Linked DNA regions of Homo sapiens: region 2 is linked to region 1. The links are contacts of gene promoters, found by promoter capture Hi-C in blood cells and fetal thymus (Javierre and others, 2016). All regions are on one chromosome and are shown on one strand. The core of a region is centred on a gene start or on the middle of the fragment in contact, and the rest is flanking DNA. Distances in the headings are between cores, read along the strand shown.

The links. The method cuts DNA at HindIII sites, captures the fragments that hold promoters and counts their contacts. A CHiCAGO score of 5 or more calls a contact.
Region 2: a fragment that was not itself captured here is called in contact with the fragment with the promoter of DRC11 in region 1 in 1 of 17 cell types (M2 macrophages); the score reaches 7.0 in M2 macrophages.

What each region holds. Positions count from the first base shown.
Region 1 is chr2:236,505,492-236,508,788 of GRCh38, reverse strand. DRC11 (dynein regulatory complex subunit 11) reads left to right here and starts at 1,313. Exons shown (of 19, transcript NM_024726.5): 1 at 1,313-1,532. The coding sequence starts at 1,522. RefSeq lists a silencer at 1,138-1,187. The HindIII fragment of the contact is 24,475 bases long and covers 1-3,297 here.
Region 2 is chr2:236,976,422-236,979,361 of GRCh38, reverse strand. All of the region lies in intron 1 of COPS8-DT (COPS8 divergent transcript), which reads left to right. Among named protein-coding and RNA genes, the nearest start is that of COPS8-DT, 110 kb to the left of the region's middle. The HindIII fragment of the contact is 4,273 bases long and covers 1-2,940 here.

The DNA.
Region 1 (3,297 bases), core at 64-2,563:
CAGGCTCTGTGCTCTCTTCTGAGATTTTGATAAGCTCCTTTACCACCATCCTCCCACTCTTGTCACGAGTGTGCCCTATTCCTGTGACAACATGCCCTTTGACTTTGAATCTTTGCCTCAATTCAATGTAGGGACCTAGAAAAAGGCAAGCCCTGGAGATTTCTCCTGTCCCTGCTCAGGTCCTGGGAGCGGTAGGGATTGACCTCCACTCAGGATGGTTTTATCTGGCCGGATTTCCCCAGGTGTTTCCTCGTTCGGCTCACCCTTTCATACCCCTTCTTTTCAGTGTGTGTATTCTTTGCATCAAAAAGCATTAATGAGAATTCTTGGTGTTGTGTCTACTTGGTCTCTGCCCCCTGAAGGGCTTTGGGAGGGTGGAGATGAGGCTGGACACCATTCTCCACGGCAAGCTGCTATTTCACTGAGTTTTTGAAGTTTACGGTACAAGGTTGTACTCAATTTCTCGTCTGAGAAATAATTTGCTCCATTATTTGAAGGCGGTGCGGAGGGCTGGCTTTTACTATGCTTTTGCGCATTTCATTAGTAATGGTGGGGGAGAGGTTTTGTGATCCTGATTATAATTTTTACCTGGATGTCCTCTCCACGCCTTTGACAGCATTAAACCTGGCGTTCCAATAGGAGCTGCAGGGTCTAAAATGTGCAAATAAACCTCAACAGTTACTAAAGTCGAAGAAAGAAGAGCAATGAAAGCCAACACTCATAGCGACTTACGGATAACTGTTAATAGCATCCACACTGCATTTTACATTTACAACGCACCCGCGCCTTAGTTCATACTCATTAAGTCTCCGAAGGGCGCGTCTGCCTAAGTCTTGGGTGCCCAGAATCTAAGTCTGCACTTGGCCCAGAATAGATGCCCAGTAAAGTTCTGAACGAACGACTGTTATACCCAGTTTACAGATGGGAAAACTGAAGACCACCATCATTAAGGGCCTTGCCCAAGGCCGCAGAGCTGACAGTGGATGAAAATGGGGCCAGCAGGAAAGCGGGAAGACGGCCTGGAGGACCACAGGCTAAGTGCTGGGGCCCGGAGCAGGCTCGCCAAGCGGCCGGGCCCCGCGACGGAGCGCTCGGACTCCGACCGGCTCCCACAGCTGCGCCCACCCAGGCCTCCCGCGGTGGCGCAGGCGCGGAATGCGGGGGGCGGGGGGGGGGAGGGGGCAGGCGGAAGGCAATGCGCAGGCGCGGCGTTTCCGTTGCTAGGGCCGCGTCGCGCCCACCTGAGTGGCCGAAGTGAGGTTCGCGAGTCTCTGGGTCGCGACGGGAAGGAGTGAAACACCTCTCTGCGCCTGCGCGCTCCGTGCCTGCGAAGCAAACCCGGCCTCACCTTTTCCTGCCCGAAGCAGAAGATTCTCGCAGTCCTGGTTTCTCCCTCCAGAAGACCCCCCACCCAAATCCTCTGTAGCTCCTGGTAGTGCCCTGACCCCTGCTGCCACCGTCCTTCAGAGAGCAACGGAAGAGCTTCCCGGAGGGCGAGGAAAAGAGGGAAAGTAGCCAGCAATGTCGAACGCGTAAGTGATGGGCTCCCAGCCACAGCCATGGAGTGGGCTTCCCCAAGCCAGAAGGTGGCTTGCTTTCTGCTTCTCTTATTTTCTTTTTTCTTTTCTTTTCTCCTCCCCTCTCAACTTCCCTCCTCTCCCCCACTTTTTTTCCTTTTAGGAAATTCAAATATGCCTCGGGATAGAGTATCTGCTTCTTGTGAGCAAGGAAAATCATACACTTAGATCTCCCCCTCCCCTACGCGTCCCACCACCCCATGGGGATGAGCTCCCAGTCTTCCGTATACCTGCCAAGCCCTTAGGGGCTATTGCTGAGAAGCACTATGCCATTTTGTCTGCTTTTTTTGTTAATCTTTCACGGTAACAAATACGGTGCTTTGTGGAAACACCTAGGTCCTGAAATTTAAGTCTAGAAAGATCTTGGGAAAGCATTATTGACATTTGCTTTTCACAGACTCGAGTGGCATTGGTACTGAAAGAAGTGTGTGCCTAGCACTGTGTCGTTTACACAGCACTTGCACAAAGTTACCTCATTTGGTCTTCGTAAGAATAATTTCCAACAGGTATTACAGCGCTGACCCTGTAGACACTGTTCTAACCGCTTCACAGCAACCCTGTAACGTAGGGGCTGTTAATATTGTTATTTCCATTTTACAGATGAGGGAACTTGGGGATGAAGAGGTGAAGTAGTTCACACAGCAAGTGAACAGTGCCAAGCCGGGCACTGTAGCTCCAGCCTGCACTGTTGCTATTACGTGCCCTGTATTCTAGGCAAGGAAATAAGAGCAGAGAGGTTAAAGGCTTGCCAGGGTTTGGAAATGGGGAAGATCAAGAGTTCTGTTTAAGACGTATTGAGTTGGAAGTGCCCATTGGACATCACGTGGAGATGAAATAGGCAATTAAAATATTCAGATCTTGGGTTCAGGAGCGAGACCCATGTCTGAAATATAAACTTGCTCACTGTCAGCCTGTGATGGTCTTTGTGAGACATAGAATGAATATTAATAAAGAGGTGTAAGGACTGATCCTGGGATCATCCACAGTAAGGCTGGGGGAAGAGGAGACCTGGCAAAGGAATCAAAGACATGATCCATGAGGAAGAAGCGAGTGGAAGAAATAATAGTGTTTCCAGGAGAAGTAACTTCTTTCTCCTCCATCAAGTGCTCCTGAGACAAGTTGGGGTAGAACTGAGAACTGACTGTTGATTTGGCAGTGTGGAGTTCACCAGTGACCTTGACAGGAGCTGATTCAGTGGTATGATGAGATAGAAAGACTTACTCAAGTGAATGTAGGGGGAGAGAAACTATAGATGGTGAGCATAGCTAACTCTTTAAAGGAGTTTTGCTGCAGAGGAAAGGAAATATGTTGGCAGCTAGAGGCAGAGGACATGGCTCCAAGACAGAAAACAATAGAATGTTTGTGTGTGGAAGGGAATGGCCCAGAATGATATAGGAGGAGGAGGGAGAAGTGGGTGACATCGTTGGTAGTGAGAGGACATGGGATCCAGGGGGTGCTGGCCTTAGGTAGAGGAACTCAGCACTTAACAATGGAACAGGTAGGAAGGCAGCATCAAGATGCTATTCAGTGGGTGGGTGCTCTGGAGGTGGCCTGGAACGATCATGGTAGATGGAAGATGATGGTGACTGAGGGGCAGTGGTGACAGCATCAGATGAAATGGGATTCAAAGCCTGGGAGTGTTGGGAGGAGGGAAGGCAAATGTCTGGAGGTGCAGTGAAGAGAAGGGGTCCCCTTGACCCAGCCCCACAGCCAGAGACAG
Region 2 (2,940 bases), core at 69-2,568, 470 kb before region 1:
AGTTCGAGGATTCTCCTGGCCCAGCCTCCCAATTAGCTGGGATTACAAGCATGCACCACCACCTCTGGCTAATACTTTGTCTTTTTAGTACAGACTGGGTTTCACCACGTGGGCGAGGCTGGTCTCGATCTCCTGGCCTCAAGTGATCCTCCCACCTCAGCCTCCCAAAGTGCGGCGGTTACAGGCACGAGCTACAGCGCCCGGCCTAAATTTAACAGAGTTTAATTGAGCAAAGAATGATTCATAAATCAGGTAGCCTCCAGAGCCAGAGTAGGCTCAGAGAGTCCAGCACAGCTAGGTGGTGGAAGATGATTTATAGACAGAACAAAGGAAAGTGATGTACAGAAGATGGAAGTGAGGTACAGAACTGGCCAGATTGGTTACAGCTCAGCATTTGCCTTATTTGAACACAGTCCAAAGAGTTGACCACCATAGATTGGGCAAAACTCAGTGATTGGCACAAGAGTAGGTTACAGTCTGTTTGCACTTCCATTTAGGTTATAGCTCACGATGTACAGAGAAACCTTAGGCCAAACTTAAAATATTGGCTGGTGACATTACTTTTAATGGCAAAAACTGCAATTACTTTTGCACCAACTTTTGCACCAATAGGTAAGGAGGCAGTTTTAGGCTAAAGTCAATTTAACAGATTTATTCTGAAAACTTGCTTTATCTGTTGCCACATAAAAAACAACCTCCAGGCTGGGCGTGGTGGCTCACGCCTGTAATCCCAGCACTTTGGGAGGCCGAGGCGGGCAGATCACTTGGGGTGGGGAGTTCGAGACCAGCCTGACCAACATGCAGAAACCCCATTGCTACTAAAAAATACAAAATTAGCCAGGTGCAGTGGCGCCTGCCTGTAATCCCAGCTACTCAGGCTGAGGCAGGAGAATCACTTGAACCCGGGGGGGCAGAGGTTGTGGTGAGCCAAGATCACGCCATTGCACTCCAGCCCAGGTAACAAGAGCGAAACTCCATCTGAAAAACAAAACAAAACAAAAAATCAATCTCAAAATGTAGCAGATTCAAACAACCATGGTTTTATTTGTTCTTGATTTTCTGGGGCTAGAATTTGGGATGATGTTTCTTCTGCTTCACGCAGGTTGGCTGGGATAATTCACTCGGCTGCATTCAGCTGGTGCCTGGGCTTGGCTGGGAGGCCAAGAAGGCTTCACTCACAAGCCCGCCCGTGTGTGCTCCTGCTTCTGCCAACTTCTATTGGTCAAAAAGGTTGCAGGACCTGCCTGAATTCAAGGGAAGGGGAAATAGACTCTTCTTAAGGAGAGACAGCAAAGCCACAATACAAAAGAACATGTGTGATGGCAGAGAGTGCTGTCACCATCTCTGGAGACAAATCTACCACTCTAACTTTCACTTCTTTACAAGCTGAGATTACCCTGCAAATTGGAATTTTTATATGTGAGGAAAAATTAATATTTATAGGATCCCTACCATATGCTGAGTGCTGTGCTAACTACTTTCACGTAGAATTTCTCCTTTGCTGCGACCTATATTTTCTGTAGACCTAATCTCTGGGTTCATTTGAACCATCTGCTGATGGAAAGGCAGTAGCTCATAGCTGGTCCGTCCATAAAGGAGGATGCATGACAATTCCGACAGGTGGAACCTCTCTAGCTTCCTTCCACACGCAAGAACAACCCTAAACTTGTTCTCTTTGTCCCTGGGGATCACGGGATACCGACTTGCATTCCTAAAACAGCTCATATCACACTGTTGTTCATTTGGCCTCCCAGGGGATGGAGGCTTATCTCTTTAGAGATTCTGTTATTATTGAAAAGAAATCATTTCTATGACTCTGGGTATCCAACTAAAACTTGTACAAACAGAAGATATTGGATGGGCAGCTCCCTGGCAACTCCCTCCTATTCAACTGTAATACGCCCTCCTCCAGCTATTCAGAAACTACAAACTAAGGCGGTAGCCCCATGATGTCTGTATAAGAACTGATGACAGGCACACCCAGAGGCTTACAGGGTGTTTGTACGGAACATCAGCCCTGCGGGACCTTCCTGATTTATCCCTTTTGAAACTCTTGACTGTGCTTCAAAAGTAAAGAATAAAACAATAACCTGCCTGTGTACCACAGGGCAACTCTACTGCAGTAAAAACAGCAGAGGCAGGGAAATTGCATCCACCAGAAATTAACCTGCAGTCAGAGGAGAGTTGTGACATCAGCAGAGTTGGTGTCTCTGGAGTCAAAAGGGAAAGTTCTGGGACCTTCTAGCAGGGAGGTCGTGGAAAAGGCAGGAGCGGCCCCAGATTTCTAATAGGGGCAATTTGCTTTTAAATGTTGTAGACACTTTAAGAGTAGTGTAGGGATTTCAAACGTTTATTAGGCAAATGAGGAAAGAGAGGCCCAAGTGGGTGAGGCAACTTGACCAGGGTCAGTGAGCTGGAGTGTGGCAGAGCAGCTTCTGGACCCCAAGTTTCCTCATCTCCAGCCCAGCCCTCTTTCCAAATACACCCTTCCTCCAACCCTGACTTTTCTGCCCAACTAATCTTTACCAAGTGACCCTGAAGTGGTGAAGGGGAAAATTCCACTTGGTCAGAGCGTGGAGAACAAGGAGGAGGGGGAAGGGAAGGGACAAGGTCAGGGGTTTCTGAGGGATCTTTAGGCAGCCTCAAGCTGGAAGGTGTGTGTGGTGGGCAGGGGAGGTCTCTCTAACACCTCCTACCTCTCCTGATAGCAATAGAGGAGGAAAGGAGTCATTCCTGGCCAGATCGAGGGAGGCCTGCAGCAGCCGGGCCTTCAGGGACGCAGCCGTGTCTAGTGGTTGGAATCTGGTCTCCCATCAAACTGACACAGAAAGACAGAAAAGTCTCTTTGACTGTGAGGTCCTGGTGAGGACACATCTGTGTGAACTTGAGCAACCCAGGGAAGAGGAAGACAGTGGAAAATAGTGCCTGGAAGACAAAGAG